Linked DNA regions of Homo sapiens: regions 2, 3, 4 and 5 are each linked to region 1. Evidence: promoter capture Hi-C in human tissues and cell types (Jung and others, 2019). All regions are on one chromosome and are shown on one strand. The core of a region is centred on a gene start or on the middle of the fragment in contact, and the rest is flanking DNA. Distances in the headings are between cores, read along the strand shown. Region 1 holds the start of VDAC2 (voltage dependent anion channel 2). Region 2 overlaps ADK (adenosine kinase). Region 3 holds the start of NDST2 (N-deacetylase and N-sulfotransferase 2). Region 4 has its middle 33 kb from the start of C10orf55. Region 5 overlaps AP3M1 (adaptor related protein complex 3 subunit mu 1).

Evidence for each region. The method cuts DNA at HindIII sites, captures the fragments that hold promoters and counts their contacts. A contact is called where the count stands out against the background at its distance.
Region 2: a fragment that was not itself captured here is called in contact with the fragment with the promoter of VDAC2 in region 1 in 1 of the 25 tissues and cell types used here (lymphoblastoid cells).
Region 3: the fragment with the promoter of NDST2 here is called in contact with the fragment with the promoter of VDAC2 in region 1 in 1 of the 25 tissues and cell types used here (spleen).
Region 4: a contact is called between a fragment that was not itself captured here and the fragment with the promoter of VDAC2 in region 1, in 1 of the 25 tissues and cell types used here (stomach).
Region 5: a fragment that was not itself captured here is called in contact with the fragment with the promoter of VDAC2 in region 1 in 2 of the 25 tissues and cell types used here (aorta and heart right ventricle).

Annotation. Positions count from the first base shown.
Region 1 is chr10:75,209,501-75,212,200 of GRCh38, forward strand. VDAC2 (voltage dependent anion channel 2) reads left to right here and starts at 1,296. Exons shown (of 10, transcript NM_001391963.1): 1 at 1,296-1,438; 2 at 1,634-1,689. The coding sequence starts at 1,659. RefSeq lists enhancers at 619-1,200, 931-1,225 and silencers at 870-1,179, 1,200-1,569. The HindIII fragment of the contact is 11,244 bases long and covers 1-2,700 here.
Region 2 is chr10:74,200,669-74,203,368 of GRCh38, forward strand. ADK (adenosine kinase) reads left to right here. Exons shown (of 11, transcript NM_006721.4): 2 at 96-170. Among named protein-coding and RNA genes, the nearest start is that of ADK, 51 kb to the left of the region's middle. The HindIII fragment of the contact is 4,846 bases long and covers 1-2,700 here.
Region 3 is chr10:73,810,207-73,812,906 of GRCh38, forward strand. NDST2 (N-deacetylase and N-sulfotransferase 2) reads right to left here and starts at 1,392. Exons shown (of 15, transcript NM_003635.4): 1 at 1,268-1,392; 2 at 593-697. CAMK2G (calcium/calmodulin dependent protein kinase II gamma) reads right to left here. Exons shown (of 23, transcript NM_001367534.1): 23 at 2,295-2,700. It overlaps NDST2-ZSWIM8-AS1 (NDST2-ZSWIM8-AS1 readthrough), which reads right to left and starts at 1,614. Exons shown (of 18, transcript NR_182658.1): 1 at 1,268-1,614; 2 at 593-697. RefSeq lists silencers at 827-896, 1,197-1,906. The HindIII fragment of the contact is 10,328 bases long and covers 207-2,700 here.
Region 4 is chr10:73,954,497-73,957,196 of GRCh38, forward strand. No RefSeq gene overlaps it. Among named protein-coding and RNA genes, the nearest start is that of C10orf55, 33 kb to the left of the region's middle. RefSeq lists enhancers at 2,125-2,224, 2,412-2,700. The HindIII fragment of the contact is 8,231 bases long and covers 1-2,700 here.
Region 5 is chr10:74,129,292-74,131,991 of GRCh38, forward strand. AP3M1 (adaptor related protein complex 3 subunit mu 1) reads right to left here. Exons shown (of 9, transcript NM_012095.6): 5 at 616-701. Among named protein-coding and RNA genes, the nearest start is that of AP3M1, 20 kb to the right of the region's middle. The HindIII fragment of the contact is 5,109 bases long and covers 1-2,700 here.

The DNA.
Region 1 (2,700 bases), core at 46-2,545:
TCAAGCGATCCTCCCTCCTCAGCCTCCCAATTAGCTGGGACTACAGGCGCCAGCCACCACGCCCGGCTATTTTTTTTTTTTTTTTTTTTTTTTTTGGTAGAGGCAGGGTATTACTATGCCTAGGCTGGTCCGGAACTCCTGAGCTCAGGCGATCCGCCCACCTCGGCATCCAAAAGTGCTGGTATTACAGGTGTGAGCCACCGCGCCCAGCCTGTTTGGGGATCTGGCTAGCATCTGTTTCTCTCCTGATTTCTTGGAAGGTCAGATAAAGATCCTAGCTTTGGCGTGGTAGTGTGAAACTTCAGCATGAGTAACCCCATTTTGGTTTGGTCTGATGGGCCTAATGCAGGAGGTCAGTCTAAACTAACGGTCTCCCATATACATTTTATCTAATAGCTCTGTCACCCTTCCTGCACACCCGGGGAACTCGGGTGCGGCATTCTAACGCCTGCTCAGCATGATTCCACATTTTCTCCAGGCCCATAATCCAGAGGAGGTTGGGCCCGGAGCAGGCTTGCCTCGCCAAGCTCCGGCTCCGTGCGTGTGTGAAGCAGTGCCATGCCTGAGTGGGGAGGAGCCGCGGAAGAGAAAGCGTAAGGCGGCGTGGAAATGGGTGGGGCACGCTAGGACCCGCTCACATTTGTTCAGGGAGAGGCAGTCCCAAAAAGCCTCTCAGGCACACAACCCAGCACAGCAAGGCAGTCACACCAAGGTGGGAAAAGAGGGCAGAAGAGCGCGAGGGGCTGGAGGTGGCGCCCCTGTGTCCCACTCGTTCTCCCTGGGCTGGGAAAGAGAAGCGGTCCCTCAGAAGCGCAGGCTGCGCTAGCTTAGGATGGACGTGGGTAACGCTCAGCTGACTCCCCGCAGGCACCCTATGCAGGGCTTTGTTTCGGGGGGGAACCCGCACCAGCGCGTAAGGGGAGTAGGAGAGATCTACGTGACCCTGGTGCGCAGCCGCGCCCTATCGCCCCGGCCACGCGCCGACGCCCCGCCCCGTCCGTGACGCGTTCGCGCGGGGCCTCCGCCCCATCCCCCTCCCAGGCGGTCCCCAGCGCGCTGCCTCCGCCGTTCCCCGCCCCCTCGCCTCTGAGGCTGCCCGGATAGCTGCCTGATCCAAGGCCCAGCAGCTTCTGCCTTCCGGATCCCCACCGACGGACGGAGGCAGCCCACCTGCAGGACCGGGGCGCTGTCGGTCCACGTGGCCGCTCTGGAGCAGGTTGGAGTTGGCAGCGGGCTGCGCTGCAGGGACAGGCGCGGCGGACAGCCCCGGGGGCAGCGGCGGGGTCCTGTCTGGGAGAGGACAGGGTTGCGGCGGGCGGAACGGTGTCTCCTTCACTTCGCCCTCCAGCTGCTGGAGCTGCAGCCCGACCGCGAGCGTGCCAAGCGGCTTCAGCAGCTAGCGGAGCGGTGGCGGCGGCCCCCCTCAGGACACCACCAGGTACCGCCGCGCCCGCCTCACGCCGACCCAGGGGCCTAGGCCGCGGCGGCCAAGCCGGAGGCCCGCGCCGGACTCGGAGTCGGCCCTGGCTTCCTAAGATGGCCGCGCTGCCCCGCGGCCCCTCGCCCCTCTCTGCCCGGGATCTCCCTTTGGCCCTTTGACCCCAGCTTACCGCACTTCTTGTCCCTCCCGCAGATTCCCCTCTTCCCGCGGCCTCGCCATGGCGACCCACGGACAGACTTGCGCGCGTCGTAAGTAAAGCTGGGATCTCTGCGGGATGGGGCGGCGGAGAGTCGAAGCCTGTCGACCAGAAACCCAGTTTGTTTCCCCCTATCTTTCCAAGAACTTGGAAATTCGGCTGCTTTTGGTGGTCGCCCCACCGTCTGACCACCTCCTCTGCGGAGGAGGGGCTGGGCTGCTGGATTTCAAATGGGGAACAAGGCCCGGGGAGTTGGTCTGTGGCCGCATGGACTTTTCAGCCTTTGTACATGTCTTTGACGTATAGAAGTAAAAAGTTGTTAATTGGGGATTCTGCCTTTGGAGGATCGGATCAATCACTTTTCTAGAGGAAGTAGCAGTCCCTCTTGTGAGAGCGCAAGGTCATTACTTGTGCTCCTAAGGGCGTGGACGTGCTTTGTGGAATGAATGAGCTGGTGTAATGAGCTCAGATTGCCTGCCCTTAAGCAGCACAGCATTGGCCGAGGACTTGAGAGTCACATTAGTAAGTTTGAAGCGCTATTTGATATTTAGTTGATGTAGACATTTGAGTGAAACACACATGGCAGTATTTTTTCCAAGTTTCAATATTTAAATTCCCAGTATTAAATTCTCTTCCCACTCCAGGGTGTTGGTTTTCCCCTCAGCGAAGATATTAAAGGACGTATCAGGGTAAAGGGCCTAGTCTTAGGTTTCGGTTTTATCTAATTTAGTTAAATCAGCTCATCTCAGTGAATTTTGGCAGATACATAAATATCCATACACACAAATACTTGTTTGATTCTTTGTACTTGTCCAGTCCTAGGAAGTGAGGCTGTAGGTAATAGACTGTTTTTCCGTTTTGAAACGAATTCCCCAAGTTTGTATAATCATGGTTATCTGTTTTAGAAATAATTCGTTGGTGGTATCTCCTTTATGGGTCGTTATAGTTCTATTGTAGCTCCTGACCGCATAAAAAACATTCCAACAAATGGGATTGCTTGAATTTTAATATCAGCAGTGGGTCATGCTCTTGTTCTTGGATAGAAGGTGGGAGAATAGAGACA
Region 2 (2,700 bases), core at 163-2,662, 1.0 Mb before region 1:
GGTTGAAATGAAGATAGTTATTTTTATTTTGTGTACCTTTTACATATCAACTTACTTTTAGAAGTATTTCTAACTTGTGTTTTGTGTTTTTTTAGAGAAAATATTCTCTTTGGAATGGGAAATCCTCTGCTTGACATCTCTGCTGTAGTGGACAAAGATTTCCTTGATAAGTAAGTATTAAACTCTTCATATGCACTATGTGGAACTTACATTTGAAGAAGAATGGATGAAAACTTTAGAAGTGAATTTACCACCGAATGTCTTCAATTAAAGGAAAACTCAGGAAATTTAAGTTTGGTGATAGCAAGTGTGCTATCATTAACTATTGAATAACTGAGTACAGTTTTCCTTGGGAAAACTTATATACATTGCTATTTTTACTTAAAACTTTTTTGCTTATTATTTGGAAGGAGAAAAGTTTATATAATTTACCTAATTATTTAATTCCCCAACTTTTAAACTACTGTCAGTGAGCTACGTCTATAATGGTATCATAATCTACAGACATTCTACCCCGAATGTGCCCAGTCTGGTTTCCTCTCAGAAGCTATAATGGGAGAAGAAAGATGATTAGAGAAGACAAGAGAACGTGCAGGATATAATTCAGAGGATATGAAGCTCTGCTGTTTCCGCTTTATTAGTAACTTCCAATGTTTCAACTTAGCTGAGAAATCAGTTTGTTTATTTACCTAAGTATTTGAGGCCATTTCGTACAATAGTCCCCACTTGTGTCCTTGTTTTCAGTTTCTGAGGTCTCAGTTACCCATAGGACAGTGTAATAAGACATTTTGAGAGAGAGACATGCACCACGTCCACATAACTTTTATTACAGTATATTTTAATAGTTGTTCTATTTTTAGTTAGTTGTTGTTAATCTCTTATTGTGCCTAATTTATAAATGAAACTTTATCATAGTATGATGTGTAGGTATGTATGTGTAGGAAAAACAGTGTGTGTGTGTTTGTGTGTGTGTGTATATGTATGTATGTATGTATGTATGTATGTATGTATCTATCTATCTATCTATCTATCTATCTATCTATCTATCTATCTATCTATCTATATATGGTTCAGTACTATCCATGGTTTCAGATACCCACTGGTCATCTTACAATGCATCTACCTCGGATAACGGGGGCACTACTATATGGCAAATTTAAGTAGTAAAAAAGATTAATGATGAGAAAGCAAGATCCCCCCTCTCCTCACACACCCTGATTTCTGTACCCAAGAGTAATTACTTTTTAAAAAATTGAGGCAAAATTTATATCGCATAAAATTGATCGTTTTAACCATTATAAAGTATACAATTCAGTGACTGCCAGTATATTCACAAAGTTGTACAACCATCACCACTATCTAATTCAGGACATTTTCATCACCCCAAAATGAAATCCCATACCCAGTAAGTAGTCATTCGCTATTCCCTCCTCTAACCCAGTCTCCTGGGAACTACTAGTATACTTAGTTTTTCTATGAATTTGTCTATTCTGAGCATTTTATAGAAATGGAATCATATAATAATATATGATCTTTTGTGTTTATATATATGACCTTTTGTGTTTGGGCTTATTTTACTTATGTAATGCTTTCAAGGTTCATCCATGTTGTAGCATGTATCAGTCCTTCATTCCTTTTAATAGTGGACTATTCCATTGTGTGGATAGACCACATTTTGTTTATCCATTCATTGGTTGATGGACACTTATGTTGTTTTTATTTTTTGTCTATTAGGAACAATGCTTCTTATGAATATTCATGTATAAGCTTTTGTGTAGGAATGTGTTTTCATTTCTCTTGGGTATACACATAGGAGTGGAACTGCTGGGTCACATGGTAATTCTGTGTTTAACTTCTAGAGAAACCACCAAACTGTTTTCCAAAGCAGCTGCACTGTTTTGCATTCCTACCGGCAGTGCATAAGTGTTCCAGTTTCTCTACGTCTTTGCCAAAGCTTATTTTTTATTTTTTAAATTATAGCCATATGAGTGGGTGTGAAATGATGTCTCATTGTGATTTTGATTTGCATTTTTCTATTGAAAACTTTTGATGTTAGCATCTTTTCATATGCTTATTGGATATTTGTATATCTTTGGGAAAATGTTGAAGCTCTTTGCCCATTTTTTAATTGGGTCGTTGTCTTTTTGTTAAGTTGTAAAAGTTCTTTTTATATTCTGGATACTAGACCCTATCAGCTAGCATATGATTTGCAAACATTTTCTCCCATTCTGGGGATTTACTTTAATTTTTTGATAGTATCCTTTGATGCACAAAAGTTTTAAATTTTGATGATGTCCATTTTATTTTTCTTTTGTTGCTTATGCTTTTGCTGTCATATGTAAGAATCTATTGTTAAATCCAGGATCACAAAGATTTGTGCCTGTGTTTTCTTCTAAGAGTTTTGTAGTTTAAGGTCTTAGATTTAGGCATTTGATCAATTTTGAGTTAATTTTTGTATAAGGTATGAAATAAGGGTTCAACTTTATTCTTTTGTGTGTGGAAATCCAATTGTCTCAACATCATTTGTTGAAGAGACTATTCTTTTCCCCACTGAATGATCTTGATACTCTTGACAAAATCAGGTGACCATAGATATATGGGTAAATTTCTGGACTCCATTCTATTCCATTGATACATATGTCTGTCCTTATGCCAGTATGACATTGGTGTTTTTGTGTATGTGTGTTTTGTTTTTTGTTT
Region 3 (2,700 bases), core at 142-2,641, 1.4 Mb before region 1:
CCAGCACTGTGAAAGGCCGAAGCGGGTGATCACTTGAGGTCAGGAGTTCGAGACCAGCCTGGCCAACATGGTGAAGCCCCGTCTCTACTAAAAATACAAAAATTAGATGGGCATGGTGGTGGGCGCCTGTAGTCCCAGCTACTCAGGAGGCTGAGGCAGGAGAATCACTTGAACGTGGGAGGCGGAAATTGCAGTGAGCTGAGATTGTGCCACTGTACTCCAGCCTGGGTGACAGAGCTAGACTCCAGCTCAAAAAAAAATAAAAATAAAAATAAAAATAAAACAGTTCAGCTTTGGCCTAGGTAAAACGACACGAGAAGACAGCTGGGGGAGAGGATCAAAATGGTGACGGGAAGGGGTGAATGCTAAGAATGTGATGCAACTTTAGAGAAAACATTGTAGTGAGGAGGTCACTGACGGGAAGTTGATACTCAGGGTGTATCATCCCGTATTTGAGAAATTACAACTTGCCAGCCATTCTTCTAAGAGCTTCACATATATTTAATCTTCACACCAGCCCTAAGAGGTAGGGAAAAGGTACATGCTCCATTATCCCCATTTCACATATGAGTAACTCAGAGAAGCTTAGAACCTTGCCCAGGATCACACAGCTCAGTTGGTGGGAGGGCTGGGATTCGACGTCAGGCCTGTCAAGCTCCAGAGCCGCGTTCTTAGCCGCTGCATTTTAGCTTCATACCTGGAAGAAGCAGCAAGGTTTAGGGAAGGGGCGCCGGGAGCGCCGCAGGCCGGGCCAGTGAACACTGAGGGCCAGCAGGGCTGGGCGGGGTGGGTGTGTGCGGGAGATCTCTGAGGACGGCGAAGCCAGACGGGGGCCGGGGCCGGGCCCGGGCTTGGGGAGGCCGGGACGGCCGGAGCAGCGGCGCGGAGGCTGCGGGCGCCGAGGGGGCCCGGGGCTGGCGGGTGGAGGGGCCCCGCCGAGAGGAGACGGGGGCACAGGTGGATGCGAAGAGCGCACCGGATGTGGGACACCAAAGGGGAAGGGGCCACAGGCGCGCGGCGGCGACTCCGGGGTGACATCGAGACAGCCTCTGGGCTGGGAGAGCCCTGCGGGAAGAAGGGAGCCCGCCCGGTCCGGAGGGGAGCGAGGCGGTTCTGAGGGAGGCCGGCGGAAAGGACCCGGGGCGCGGCGCACGCTGGGCCGCCCGGGACGACCCTGCGGGTGGTGATGGTGGCAACATCCAAGGGAGTCTGTTGGGGGGGCCTGAGCGCGACCGTGGGCGGGGGGGTCTCCTCAGGGGCGGCTCACCCGGAGGACTGGGCGGCGTCCCCGCTGTCCCCGGGCTCCGCCGCGTCCCGGGGCTGCCCGGCTTCCCTGCTTTCGGGGCCACGGGCCGCGTCGCGGCTGCTCCGCCATCTCCGAGCGAACGCTCTGCCGCAGCCTGGCCCAACCACCGCTCCCACCGGGGGAGGCGGCGCGCCGCCGCTGGTGGCACCCGCTCGGATCCACCGGCTCCGGCCCTAGCAGCCGCGCGACCTGGGTTCCGGGAAATCAAGCGGCCCTCCGCAGTGCCGGGCCGAGCCGCGGCCTCCGAGACGGCGGGCTCCGCGCCCCGCCCGCGGAAGCGCACCCCCTCCTCTCCGCGCGATGGCACTGCCGGCCGAGCGTCGGGGACCACGACTTCGGAGCAGGGGCGGGCTCAGGCCTGGGCTCATCCACTCAGCCCCGCGGAGGGGGAGCCGGGCCGGCCCACTCGGGGGAGGGGAGGAGTAAGAGGCGGAGCGGCCTAACCGGAGGCGGGACCAGGGGCGGGGCGAGGCCCTCAGCCGGCTCCCAGGGCACTCACCCTCCCTCCCCGCCCCGCGTCGCCTGCGCAGCACCGAGCGCTGTTTGGAGGCTGTTTATGAGAAGTTTTTTTTTTTTTTTTTTTTTTTTTTTTTTTTTTTTGAGACGGAGTCTCACTCTGTCGCCTGGGCTGGAGTGCAGTGGCGCGACCTCGGCTCACTGCAACCTCCCCCTCCCAGGTTCAAGCGATTCTCCTGCCTCAGCCTTCCGAGCAGCTGGGATTACAGGCGCCCGCCACTATGCCCAGCTAAATTTTTTGTATTTTTTAGTAGAGACGGGGTTTCACCATATTAGCCAGGCTGGTCTCGAACTCCTGACCTCGTGATTCGCCCGCGTCGGCCTCCCAAAGTACTGGGATTACAGGCATGAGGAAGTTTTATTCTCAAAAGTACCCAAAGGGAGTAGGAGGAGGTACTCTCTCCAACCTGGTAAGCCAGGCTGCTAAAATCTACGCCTCTGGCCGTAAACCTCCAACAGCAGTAACACAATGGACTGTTTAAAGGTTATTTTATTAAATATTTTCAGTTCAAGGTTTCATTGTAACAAAGCTATGAAGGGTCTACCAACATTCAGAACAAACACTATTTTTAAATTATTTCTATGTTGTCATGCAAAAATTCTGCATCAAATGCCTTCCGTTTCTTGTTTAAAAGGTGATTTTTTAATAGTCTATTGTCTATAGATGCTGACATTAGCCCCAGAAGAGGAGTAAGAATGCTAAGAAGTGGGGCTGGAGCAGCCATATGAAGCTATGGGTCTCAATGAATTCTAAGACCATTTGTCTTCAAGCCAGCAAAACGAAACCCTGTGGTGAAGGGATTTGCGTGCTGGCACTGCAGACTGCAGGGCAGGAAAGGGCTAGGGCCCAGGGGCTGGGACATGCATGAGGTGCTCGG
Region 4 (2,700 bases), core at 138-2,637, 1.3 Mb before region 1:
GTTGGGATTACAAGCATGAGCCACTACGTCCAGCCTTATTTACTTGTTTGAGACAGAGTCTCGCTCTGTTGCCCAGGCTGGAGTGCAGTGGTGCAATCTTGGCTTACTGCAACCTCACCTCCCAGGTTCAAGCGATTCTTCTGCCTCAGTGGGGATTGCAGGTGTGCACCACCATGCATGGCTTTTTTTTTTTTTTTTTTGGTATTTTTAGTAGAGACAGGGCTTCACCATGTTGGCCAGGCTGGTCTTGAACTCCTGACCTCAGGTGATTCACCCCCACTTGGCCTCACAAAGTACTGGGATTACGGACATGAGCCACCATGCCCAGCCAGATTGAGTGTTTTATGATGCTGCATAGGCTTTGGAATAAGAAAGACCTGATTTCTCACCCTCACTCTAATGGCTAAAATGAAAAGACTGACAATTCCATGTGTTAACAAGGATGTAGAACAACTAGAACTCTCGTACAGGGCTGTTGGGAATATAAAATGGCCCAATCTCTTTGGAAAATTGTTTGGTGTACTTAATAAAGTTAAACATATTTCCCCCTAATAAGAATGTTCATGGCAGTGTTATTCAAAATAGCCTGAAACTGGAAAGAAAAATCTAAGTATTCAACAGGAGGATGGATAAATAAATTGGGTGGTAGATTCATAAAACGGAATACAATTCAGCATAAAAAAGGAACATACTGCTGGTACAGCAATGTGGGAAAATCCACAGACATACTATATGGAACAGAAGAAACCACATACAAGAATATGATTCTATTTTTTCTTTTTCTTTTTTTTGGGAGACAGAGTCTAGCTCTGTTGCCCAGGCTGGAGTGCAGTGGTGCAATCTCAGCTCACTGCAACCTCTGTCTCCTGGGTTCAAGTGATTCTCATGCCTTAGCCTCCTGAGTAGCTGGCACTACAGGTGTGTGCCACCATGCCCAGCTAACTTTTTGTATTTTTGGTAGAGATGGGGTTTCACCATGTTGGCCAGGCTGGTCTCGAACTCCTGACCTCAGGCAATCTGCCTGCCTCGGCTTCCCAAAGTGTTAGGATTACAGGTGTGAGCCATCACTCCTGGACAAGAATATGATTCTATTTACACGAAGTTCGAGAATAGGTAAAATTAATCTATGAGAATAGAGGTCAGAATATTGGTTACATTGGAGGCTAGGGGGAGTGAGTATTTGCTGGAAAGGGGCATGAAGGAACTCTGGAGTGTGATAGAAATAGTCTCATTTTGATCCGGGTGGTGGCTACATGGACATAATGGTATAAGTGTATACCACATATTATGTGGACAATTATGTGGACATGGCCTAATATATTACATAGTAGGTATATGTAAGTTATAGTTCAATAAAGTACTATGTGAGAGAGAAAGGAGGAGGAGGAAGAGGAGAAAGAAAGAAAAGAAAGAAAGGAAGAAAGAAAGAGAGGGAAAGAAAGAAAGTAAAAAAAAAATCCTGATTTTGATTTTGGTTTCCAGTTCTGCCCCTGTGACCCTTGGACAATTGACAACATTTCTGAGCCCCTTTCCTCACCCATAAAATGAGGATCACAGGCCAGGCTAGGTGGCTCACACCTATAATCTCAGCAATTTGGGAGGCCAAGGCGGGAGGATTGCTCAAAGCCAGGAGTTTGAGACCAGCCTGGGCAACAAAGTGAGGCCTGTCTCAACAAAATAAAAAAATTTTTAAATTAGCCAGGTGTGGTGGCATGAGCCTATAGTCCTAGCTACTCAGGAGGCTGGGGTGGGAGGATCCCTTAAGCCCAGGAGGTGGAGGCTGCAGTGAGCCCTGATTGCCTCGTTGGACCCCAGTCTGGGCAACAGAGCAAGTCCCTGTCTCTAAAATAAAATAAAATAAATAAATAAGGGATCCTAATAGTACCTCTCTCATAGGGTGGTTTGAGAGTCAAATGAGATAATGCACAAAAATCTCCTAGCCCAAGAGCCTGAAGCACCCTAAAAGTTCGGGAAACTGTATTCTTACTGTTGGCCCCTTACCTACCATCTCCTCCACCAGGAGCTGGCCCCTGAAGCCTCACCCCAAAAGAACGGTTTCTGCCCCCGGGTTATGTCAGGTCCTTAGGTGGAACTCTGAGTCCCACATCACTAAATGCTGACATGCCCGCAGAATCCAGGAGGCTCCAGTGACTAGAAAGAAGTTTCATCAAATTTGAACAGGAAGCAGCAGTGGCAGCTGATAATCTGTGACCTGAATATAGCTATCCATTATCTCACTGTGGTTTCTGGTTTCCCTGACAGAGAAAACGCCCACAACTTTCTTAAAGTTATTCTAAACACTCAGTTCCTTGTTTGGCTTTGGCAGGATAATGTTACCCCTGGGTGCCCCTGTGCTTTGGGCTGTGGCCTCCCTGCCAGCCTGAGGCTCCAGCTCTTCAGCCAATCTGTGGGGCAACCGTCCCTTCCACTCAGAGGGCAGTGACAGGAGCAGACCAGGAAAGAGGCCGCCAGTATCTGCAGCCATTGGAAGTGGGGGGGAAAAGCAAGAAACCTTAAATACAGCATTCTTGTTCCTCTTCAAGAAACCAGCCAGGCAGGACTGACATGCCGGGAGTGAGCCACCAGCTGCTTCTCACCATCACTGGTTTCTAAATTACGCTCCATTCCCAATTGCTTCTCTCTGGTTCTGTTCTCAGGAAAGCAAATCTGCCCTCCTAGTTCCTCCACCTCCAAATGAGG
Region 5 (2,700 bases), core at 87-2,586, 1.1 Mb before region 1:
ACTGTACTCAGATACCTTGACAAATATGTTCCCTGAAGATAAAGCAGTCATGGAAGAGTTTATGACCACATCTACACAACCTTATAGTTTCATAATGCTTTAAAGTTTGTAAATATTTTATGTACATTATTTTATTTGAATTTCAATAACTATAAAGGAGAAAAGGCAAGTAGTATTATTTCCCTTTAACAGATTAAAAAACTGAGGTTCAGAGGACTTAAGGTCAGAGCAAACTGGTGACAACACCAGAAGTCAGTTCTCTTAATTGTTCCTAGCAGTATATCATGCTGACTCTAAAATGATACAAAAGACCAGTGTCCTTTCATATCAGCAAAGCAAATAATTATTCAGTAAAAATGATACTGGATATTTGCAGAAGCCAGCCAGCCAATTTTAAGCCCCTTCTAGCACACTCAGGCAAAGACCTCCCTTAGTCTTTCCACAAAGACCACGCTCATCATGTAAGCGACTGTCTTAGGAAACTCTGCTAGGAATATTTCTGAGATAATCCTTTGCAATCTAAGATGCAAACTTATCTCAATATTTATCATTTCATTTAGTACTTCACATGTATTAGGCATTCAAGGGGCTATAAAACAGGAGAATAAAACTTACCATGAAAGAAAGGGAGAGATCAGGCATTCCAGATAGTTTAATGCAAGCATCAATGACCCCCTGAATTTCTGCAAAGACTGTAGATCCTGAAGAAAGAAAAAAAAAAGGAAGATAACATCAATGGAATATGAGTCTTCACTAGACCTATCACTGTATCTTTTTATTTTTATTTATTGTTTTTAGAGACAGAGTCTTGCTCTGTTGCCAAGGTTGGAGTGCAGTTGTATGATCATAGCTCACTGCAGCCTCACTCCTGGGCTCAAGTAATCCTCCTGCCCTAGCCTCCCAAATAGCTGGGAATATAGGTGCGTGCCATGACACCTAGCCCAACAATCACTACATCTAGAACAATAGAGATACCCTCTGGGTGTCAGATTAACTGAAGCTTTACATCTCTATTAACAGGTCAGGGGACAAGGTCCATACTTAACTCTGGCTGGAATATAATAATAATTCTTTTATTTTTAAGAGATAAAGTCTGACTAGCTAGTCCCAGCTGGTCCCCAGAGTAACTGAGACTACAGGTATGCCACTGTAGAATATAATTTTTTTTTTTTTGAGACAGGGTCTTGCTCTGTCACCCAGGCTGGAGCGTAGTGGTGCTATGATAGCCAGCCTCAACCTCCTGGGCTCAAGCAATCCTCCCACCTCAGCCTCCCAAGCAGCTGGTACTACAGGCATGCACCTCCACGCCTGGCTAATTTTTGTATTTTTTTTGTAGAGACAGGGTCTTGTTATGTTGCCCAGGCTGGTCTCAAACTTCTGGGCTCAAGCAATCCGCCTACCTTAGCTTCCCAAAGTGCTGGGATTACAGGTGTGAGCTACCATACCCAGCCAGAATATGCTAATTCTAAGGAAAATTAAACTGTTTCCTTTATGGAGCCAACCCTGTAAGATGACTGGATATGAGTTTAAAACATTTGGCAGGACGCAGTGGCTCATGCCTGTAATCCTAGCACTTAGGGAGGCTGACGTGGGTAGATTATCTGAGCTCAGGAGTTTGGGACCAGCCTGGGCAACATGGCAAAACCCCGTTTCTACTAAAAATACAAAAAATTAGCCAGGCGTGGTGGTGTGTGCGTGTAGTCCCAGCTACTTGGGAGGCTGAGGCAGGAGAATCGCTTGAACGTAGAAGGCGGAGGTTGCAGTGAGCTGAAACCACAACACTGCACTACAGCCTGGGCGACAATGTGAGACTCTGTCTCAAAAACAAAATAAAACAAACCAACCAAAACCATTTTCAATAGAATTTTATTTTTTTTTAATTTTTTTTTTGAGACGGAGTCTTGCTCTGTCACCCAGGCTGGATGGAGTGCAGTGGCGCTATCTGGGCTCACTGCAAGCTCTGTCTCCCGGGTTCACGCCATTCTCCTGCCTCAGTCTCTCGAGTAGCTGGGACTACAGGCGCCTGCCACCACACCCAGCTAATTTTTTGTATTTTTAGTAGAGATGGGGTTTCACTGTGTTAGCCAGGATGGTCTGGATCTCCTAACCTCGTGATCCACCCGCCTCAGCCTCCTAAAGTGCTGGGATTACAGGTGTGAGCCACCGCGCCCGGCTTCAATAGAATTTTAAAATGTGGCAAGTGTATTATGAAATGGACTAAGTTAACTTTTAAGAAATAGGATCCATAATAGAAAGATATCTCTTTTTTTTTAAGAGACAGGGTCTCCCTCTGCCATCCAGGCTGGAGTACAGTGGTGTGAACATAGTTCACCACAGCATTGAACTCCTGGGCTCAAGCAATCCTCCTGCCTCAGCCTTCTGAATAGGTAGGATTAAGGAAGCCATGCCTAGCTAATCTTTTAAATTTTTGATAGATATGGGGTCTTGCTATGTTGCCTAGGCTGGTCTTGAACTCCTGGGCTCAAGTGATCTTCCTGCCTAAGCCTCCCAAAGTGCTGGGATTACAGGTGTGAGCCACCGTGCCTGGCAAAAATCTATTATTCTATAAGATGGAATGTTATAATGAAAAGGGGACTCATGGAAGAGAAGATATTGACTATAATTCACAATAAGCCATCATTACATATTAACAAGTTGTGTGACCTGGAACAGTTCACTTAACCCTTCTGGGCTTTCCTT